Regions from separate parts of the Homo sapiens genome. Here region 2 is linked to region 1. Evidence: promoter capture Hi-C in 16 types of primary human blood cells and fetal thymus (Javierre and others, 2016). All regions are on one chromosome and are shown on one strand. Each heading gives the region's core, a stretch centred on a gene start or on the middle of the fragment in contact. The rest is flanking DNA. Distances are from core to core; before and after follow the strand shown. Region 1 holds the start of CCDC9 (coiled-coil domain containing 9). Region 2 holds the start of AP2S1 (adaptor related protein complex 2 subunit sigma 1).

Region 1 (3,827 bases), core at 379-2,878:
CAATTCTCTATCTCAGCCTCCCAAGTAGCTGGGATTACAGGCATCTGCCACCATGCTTGGCTAAATTTTGTATTTTTAGTAAAGACGGGGTTTCACCATGTTAGCCAGGCTGGTCTCGAACTCCTGACCTTGTGATCCACCTGCCTCGGCCTCCCAAAGTGCTGGGATTACAGGCATGAGCCACTGCGCCTGGCCAGTTATTTATTTTTTTGAGACGTAGTCTTGCTCTGTCGCCCAGGCTGGAGTGCAATGGCACGATCTCAGCTCACTGCAACCTCTGCCTCCCGGGTTTAAGCGATTCTCCTGCTTCAGCCTGTAGCTGGGATTACAGGTGTTACAGGTGCCCGCCACCATGCCTGGCTAATTTTTGTATTTTTTAGTAGAGACAGGGTTTCACCACGTTGGTCAGGCTGGTCTCAAACTCCTGACCTCGGGTGATCCACCCGCCTCGGACTCCCAAAGTGCTGGGATTACAGGCGTGAGCCACGGCGCCCGGCCTATTTTATTTTGAGACGGAGTCTCTCGTTCTGTCGCCCAGGCTGCAGTGCAGTGGTGCAATCTCGGCTTACTGCAACCTCTGCCTCCCGGGTTCAAGCGATGCTCCTGCCTCAGCCTCCCAAGTAGCTGGGATTACAGGCGCCCGCCACCATGCCTGGCTAATTTTTGTATATGTATATTTTTTGAGACGGAGTCTCCCTGTGTCGCCCAGGCTAGAGTGCAGTGGAGCGATCTCGGCTCACTGCAAGCTCCGCCCCCGGGGTTCACGCCATTCTCCTGGCTCAGTCTCCGGAGTAGCTCGGACTACAGGCGCCCGCCACCACGCCGGGCTGATTTTTTTTGTATTTTTAGTAGAGACGGGGTTTCACCATGTTGGCAAGGATGGTCTCGAATTCCTGGCCTCAAGTGATCCGCCCTCCTCGGCCTCCCAAAGTGCTGGGATTACAAGCGTGAGCCACTGCGCCCAGCATTTTATTTTATTTTCGAGAAGGGGTCTGCTCTGTCGTCTAGGCTGCAGTGCGGTGGCATGATCTCGGCTCACTGCAACCTCTGCCTCCCCGGTTCAAGCGATTCTCCTGCTTCAGCCTCCCGAGTTGCTGGGATTACAGGCGCGCGCCACCACAACCGGCTAATTTTTTTTGTAGAGACGGGATTTCACAATGTTGGCCAGACTGATCTCGAACTTCTGACCTCAGGTGATCCGCCCGCCTCGGCCTCCCAAGGTGCTGGGATTACAAGTGTGAGCCACCGCCCACGGCCGGTAGAACATCTGAAGCTTCTAAAGCGAACTCTAAGGTTTCATTGGCACGAGGGGGCTCGAACCACGCCAGGCTTCCAGGCGTCAGTGCCCAGTGCTTGGCATCTACTGATAGAAACCAGGAATGAGGGGCTGGAGGCGGAAACAGCTTGAAGAAAGAGGTAGAGGCCAGGGAGTGAGGACGGTGTCTCCTTTTCCTGGAAGTTGGTAATTCAGGCAGAAGGAAGTTGGATGAGCTTGCGGAACACCCGGGGGGCCAGTCGGCCCCGCTCCCGCATCCATCGCGGAGGCGCGGCCCCTTTAAGGCTCCCGGAAACGGTCCCACAGGACCGGAAGTGACCCTCTTTATTTCCCTTCCTCACGTGGTGCAGGCAGGAAGTGACGCGCCTGGCCCGGGAGCTGCGGTCGCAGAGGCCGACGGAGCCGGAGTCGCGGACGCCGCGGGGTCTCCGGGACAGGTGACCTGGGGGAGGGGGCCGGGAGCGCGCCCAGAGAAGGCGGGGCCTGAAGCCCCACGTGGCGGGGAGTGCGAACAGGCCCGGGCGGGGTCGGAGTTCTCTGCGGGGGGCGGGGACAGGACGCCCACATGGGAAGCTGGAGGGGCGCTGGCGGGGCGGGCCGTTGGGTGGGTGGGCAGGGTCGGGGCGGGGCGTGGCCAGAGCCTGGGCCGGCGGCTGTGGGCGGGACCTAAAAGTTGTGGCTGGACTGTGGGCGGGGCCATAGTGTTGCTTGTTCAGCTGTGTGGCGGGGCTCGGACGCCGGGCGGAAGCTCTGTGGGCGGGGCCAGAAAGTTTTGCCTTACTGGAAGTGGGTCCAGATTCTTGGCCGGGACGTTGGGGGCGGACCCAGAGGCTGACGCAATGGCGGGGGCGGGGCCACAATGTAGTGGGGGAGCCAGGGGGCGGGGCCAGGGTGCTGGCGGGGAATGCTGGGGGTGGAGCCAGAAAGTTTCGTCTGAGCCACGGGCGCGGCCAGAGCGTTGGCCGGGAGGCGGGGAAGCGGGGAGTTGAGCCAGAACCCTGGGGAAGCCATGGGCGGGGCCAGATGCTGACGCAACGAGGTGTGGGAGGGAGTCAGGGGGCGTGTCCAGGAGGTTGGCCAGGCCAATCGGAGGCGGGGCCAGAGGGTTGACTGGGCAGGCCGGGGGCGGGGCTGGAATAATAATAAGAGATGGTAGGGGCGGGTGTAGGCTGTTGCCTGCGAGCCAGGAGGCGGGGAAAGAGCGTGGCTGGGAAAGTCGGGAGCGGGGCCACATTAATGGCCCATGGGTGGGGGCGGGGCCAGAAGTCTGGCGGGAAAGGCGGGGCCAGAAAGTTTTTTCCCGAGCCGTGGGCGGGGCCAGAGCGGTTTCCAGGATGTCGGGGACGTGGCCCTGGCATTCCCAGCCGGATTGAGGCTGGAGCTTTGCACAGAAAATCTGGGGCGGGCCTGGGTAGTTTTGTCCTTGTTGGGGCGGGTGGAGTATTCAGTGGGGCAAAACGCCAGTTCCAGGAAGCCTCGCCAGTGAGTTCTGGGCCTGTGTACAGAATCCTTTCGGGGGAGGCGGGAGGCTGTCGACCTTCCGTAGGGCGCTGGAGACGGGACTAGGACGTCCCTGAGGAAGGCGCGGGCTTGGAATGTTCTCTGAGAGCTTGGGCAGCCAATAAGAGTGGGGTTCGGACTTTCTTTGAGCGTGGGATTGGGAATGTTTCTGAACCTTACCTGGTGGAGCTAGAATATTCGCCTGGATATGAGAGGCACCAGGATGAGCACAGGGAGGTGGGTCTGGAACTTTCTTTTGCAGGCTGGTTGGAGGGGTTGTAGTTGGAACTCTCTTGAGATAGGGAACCCGGGCTAACACTCATACCACAGGGTGTGGCGGCTGGCCTAGAATCAGCCTTTGGAGGAGAGCAGTGTTGGATACTTAAGCAGTGGGTGGGGGCCAGAACATCCCCAAGGTGGGTTTGACTAGATCGTTTACATGGGAACTGGGTGAGTCCACAAAGATCATGAAAGGGCTGAGTCTGAATTTCTATGGAGAAGATGGAGGTGGCAGTTGAAAGGAGGGAGAGTGAGGGCTACAATTCTCTTGGGGTACAGGGTTTTTTGTGTATGGCTGTGAGGATCCCGCAGTATGTTAGAGGGTGAAGTAGGTTGGGGGGCCATTGGCCTTTGTCCTTTTTTTCCCTCTGTCCCCAGGAACCCTCAGTGCTGCGTCTAGATTCTGCAGGGGAGGTTTGCTGGGACCTTGGCTCCACGCAGCCAGCGAAATGGTGAGGCTGAAAAATGGGGTCTCTAGAATCTGAGTTTTGGGGAAGGGGGCTTGGGAGGATGGGATCCATAGGGGCAGACTCTCAGACCCTGGGGGAAAGTCCCTGGTATGGATGGAGGTTTTTCCTTCCATCCCTCAACTGCCTCCCGGTCTCAGGCAGCCACACTCGATTTGAAATCAAAGGAGGAGAAGGATGCTGAGTTGGACAAGAGGATCGAGGCTCTTCGGCGGAAGAATGAGGCCCTCATCCGGCGCTACCAGGTGCCCTAGCCCCGCCCTGGGAGACCCCATCCCCTCTCTTCCCCGCAGTGAGTTTTTCTC
Region 2 (3,827 bases), core at 813-3,312, 410 kb before region 1:
TTTGCTTCCTAACTTTTTATAAAATTGAAATGTAATTCACACACCATAAAATCCATCCACTTAAAATGTAGACAGTTAAATGGTTTTTGGTATATTCACTTAGTATATATTCACAGTTGTGTAAAAATCACCACTTTTTTTTTTTTTTTTGAGACAGGTTCTAGCTCTGTTGCCCAGGCTAGAGTGCAGTGGCGCGATCCCGCCTCACTGCAACCTCCACCTCCTGGGTGCAGGCCTCCCAGGTAGCTGGGACCGCAGGTGCACACCACCACGCCCAGCTAACTTTTTGTATTTTTAGTAGAGACAGTGTTTCACCATGTTGTCCAGGCTGGTCTCGAACTCCTGGCCTCAAGCGATCCACCCACCTCATCCCCCCAAAGTGCTGCATCAGGCGTGAGCCACTGCACCCCACCTAATATCACCACTATCTAATTTATTATCTAATACCAGAACATTTTCATCATCTCCCCCCAAAAAACTCCCCACCCATTAGCAGTCACTCTCCGTTCCCCCAGGGCCTGGCAGCCACGAGTCTCCTTTCTGTCTCTGTGGATGTGTCTGTTCTGGACATTGTATATGAGTGGAATCATGCACTCTGTGGCTTTCGTGTCTGGCTTCCTTCACTCAGCGTGACGTTTTCCAGGCTCATCTGTGGGGTGGCAAGCGGCAGAGCTGCAATTCCTTTCCGTGGCTGAGTGATCCTCTGTTGGATGGATAAGGCCGTACTTCGGGCATTTGGGTTGTTTCTGCTTTAGGGCTATTATGAATAATACTGCTATGAACATTCGTGTATGAGTTTTCGTGTGGATGGATCATTTCTCTTGGGTATATACCTAAGAGTGAGATTGCTGGCTCATAGGGTAACGCTATGTTTAACTTTCTCAGGAATTGCTAAACCGTTTTCCAAAGCGTCTGCCACTTTCATGACTTAACTTTGGTGCCACTTTGGTGCCTGAGTTTACTGTGAGGAGTAAAGGATATTCCTGGCCGGTCACGGTGGCTCACACCTGTAATCCCAGCACTTTGGGAGGCCAAGGCGGGCAGATCACTTGAGGTCAGGAGTTCGAGACCAGTTTGGCCAACATGGTGAAACCCCATCTGTACTAAAAATACAAAAATTAGCCAGGTGTGATGGGGGGCAGGGGGGAGGCGGCTATAATCCCAGCTACTCGGGAGGCTGAGGCATGAGAATCACTTGAACCCAGGAGGCAGAGGTTGCAGTGAGCTGACATTGCACCATTGCTCTCCAGCCTGGGTGACAGAGCGAGACGCTGTCTCAAAAAAACAAAAACAAAAACATAGAGGTATAGTACAGTGACTGGCACGTACTAAGTGTTACATAAGAACCAGCTCTTAGCAGCATTATATTTTCCATTATGTGATGTTCAGAAAACCATGGCCAAAGCTTACTCCATTAGAAGTTCTGGGCCCATTTCTGTCTGAGACAGGCATGCTCATGCCCATTTTATAGATGAGGAAACTGAGATTTAGGGAAAGGAAGTCTCACAGCCAGAAAGCAGAGGTGGGAGTCCAAAGGCTTTGCTCTGAACCACCTGACCCCAACTTGTGGGAGCCTTCTCTCTTAGGAAAGAGAGCCCTCTAGTCCTGTCTTTTTCTTTTCTTTTTTGTTTTCAGACAGTCTCACTCTGTTGCCTAGGCTGGAGTGCAGTGGCACTGTCTCGGTTCACTGCAACCTCTACCTCCAGGTTCAAGCGATTCTCCTGCCTCAGCCTCCTAAGTACCTGGGATTACAGGCGCATGCCACCATGCCCGGCTAATTTTTGTATTTTTAGTAGAGACAGGGTTTCACCATGTTGGTCAGGCTGGTCTCGAACTCCTGACCTTGTGATCTGCCTGCCTCAGCCTCCCAAAGTGCTGGGGTTACAGGCGCGAGTCACTGTGCCCAGCCTTTTTTTTTTTTTTTTTTTTGAGACAGAGTCTCACTCTGTCGCCTAGGCCAGTGGCACAATCTCGGCTCACTGCAGCCTCTGCCTCCCGGGTTCAAGCGATTCTCCTGCCTCAGCCTCCCAAGTAGCTGGGATTACAGGCATCCACCACCACACCTGGCTTATTTTTGTATTTTTAGTAGAGACGGGGTCTCACCACGTTGGCCAGGCTGGTCTCGAACTCCTGACCTTATGTGATCCGCCTGCCTCAGCCTCCCAAAGTGCTGGGATTACAGGCATGAGTCACCGCCCCAGCCTGAGAGTCTTTCCTAAGCCTCATTCTCCACACACTCTATCCTCCCTCCCCCAACCAACCAAACTGGACCGGAACAGGATGTTACACTCTCCTTCCAAGAACTCCTGCTGAGCCAGGGAAAACCACTTCCTAGCAGGGCAGGGGTCCCAGGCAGGAAGGGACGTTGGGGGGCCTACACCAGGCAGCCACAGCCTGGGAGCAGAGCCGGAGACATATTCACACAGTTAGGAGAACTAGAAGCAAACCCACAGAGTTGACAAAAAGCTCTGCCTCTTACTCCCAAATTCCCTTGTATACCTCTCCCTGTTTTCTTCCCATTTGGAATCTCAAGTCCCCTCCGTCCTGAATCTCTGCATCCTCACGCCTCTGCTGTCCCCTCTAGATGCCCCCCAACCTTCCCTGTCTCCAATCCCCCTCCTCTGGAGTTGTTCCCTTTTGACCTCCACTTTCTCAGTCTCAGTTCCCCTCCTTGGGGCCTCAATGGGCTTTTTACTGGTGACATCCCTTGTCCCACTCCCAAGCTTCCTCCCTTCTTCAAAAGGTCACATTTTGCCTCCAAGGACCCTGTTCCTGGAGGAGACTCCGCCCCCGCTCTGACACTCTTTCTCATTCGTTTTCTTTCCCAACTTCCAGCCCAAAGAACCCTTTCCTAGATCCAAAGCCCCAACCTGGGGGATAGGGGCACTCCTAAATCCAATGTTGAGTCTTTGCCCCAACAAAGATTCCTCCCCAGGTCTCACACTTTCAAGCCTACTCCCCACCCCACAAGATCTCTCCTCTTGGAAAGACCTATTCAGTTGCTCCCCATTCTTTCCGAGTGTCCATCTTACCTCCAGGTCCTCTCTCCTTTTACAGCGCTTTCCCAGACCCTTAAGTTTCATTCCCTACAGTTGCCTCCTTTTGGTTTCCTGTGCCAGGTCTCTTCTTGAGATCATCCCTCTCTCACAGGCAGTCTCCTGCCCCTGTCTCAACATCCCCTCTCCACCTGCAATCAGATCCTTGTCTCTAGAGACTCCTCCCATCAAGAAAACCTCCCTCCCCTTTTCCAAGGTCTCGCGTTCTCGTCCCAGCGCTCCCGCCACACTTCCAGAGCGCCTTCCTCTTTCGGACGCCCTCTCCCCACCTCCAATGCCTTCTCGCTACCCACAAGACTGTGTCTCACGAGTTTCCTCTCGTTTCAAAGCTTCCAACCATCTACAACGTTTCCCACCTGCACAGCCCTTTCCCCTTGGAACACCACCCCCAATGCCCGTCGCCGCGAGACCCCTGGTAACCCCCGCGCGCAGAATCACCGCCCTGTGCCCTCCTTCCCGGCCCTGGATCGGTCCCAATCCCCAGAGCCCGCGCCTGACCCAGACCATCCGCGGCAGAGAAGGGACTTGTCAGCGCCCGATCCAGCCTCGGCTATTTACGCGTGGGCCCCCCCTCCGCCAGTCCCCGGCGTAGCGCTCCCCCGTTACCATGGCGACCCCCGTCCAGACCCCAGCGGCCCCGGTCCCGCGGCGACTGGGCAGCTCCGGCTCAGGGTGCAGTTGTAGGGCCCAGAGCTAGAGCGGACTTCCGGTAGAAAAACCCGCCTGCCTTCTCGCGCACAGACCCCTGGGAGTTGTAGTTTCACCAAAGGG

The links. The method cuts DNA at HindIII sites, captures the fragments that hold promoters and counts their contacts. A CHiCAGO score of 5 or more calls a contact.
Region 2: a fragment that was not itself captured here is called in contact with the fragment with the promoter of CCDC9 in region 1 in 1 of 17 cell types (naive B cells); the score reaches 5.3 in naive B cells.

What each region holds. Positions count from the first base shown.
Region 1 is chr19:47,254,897-47,258,723 of GRCh38, forward strand. It overlaps CCDC9 (coiled-coil domain containing 9), which reads left to right and starts at 1,629. Exons shown (of 12, transcript NM_015603.3): 1 at 1,629-1,713; 2 at 3,434-3,507; 3 at 3,663-3,767. The coding sequence starts at 3,505. RefSeq lists an enhancer at 978-1,887 and silencers at 1,778-1,887, 2,098-2,337, 2,378-2,427. The HindIII fragment of the contact is 17,839 bases long and covers 1,272-3,827 here.
Region 2 is chr19:46,847,102-46,850,928 of GRCh38, forward strand. AP2S1 (adaptor related protein complex 2 subunit sigma 1) reads right to left here and starts at 3,745. Exons shown (of 5, transcript NM_004069.6): 1 at 3,663-3,745. The coding sequence starts at 3,665. RefSeq lists an enhancer at 3,760-3,827. The HindIII fragment of the contact is 1,318 bases long and covers 1,404-2,721 here.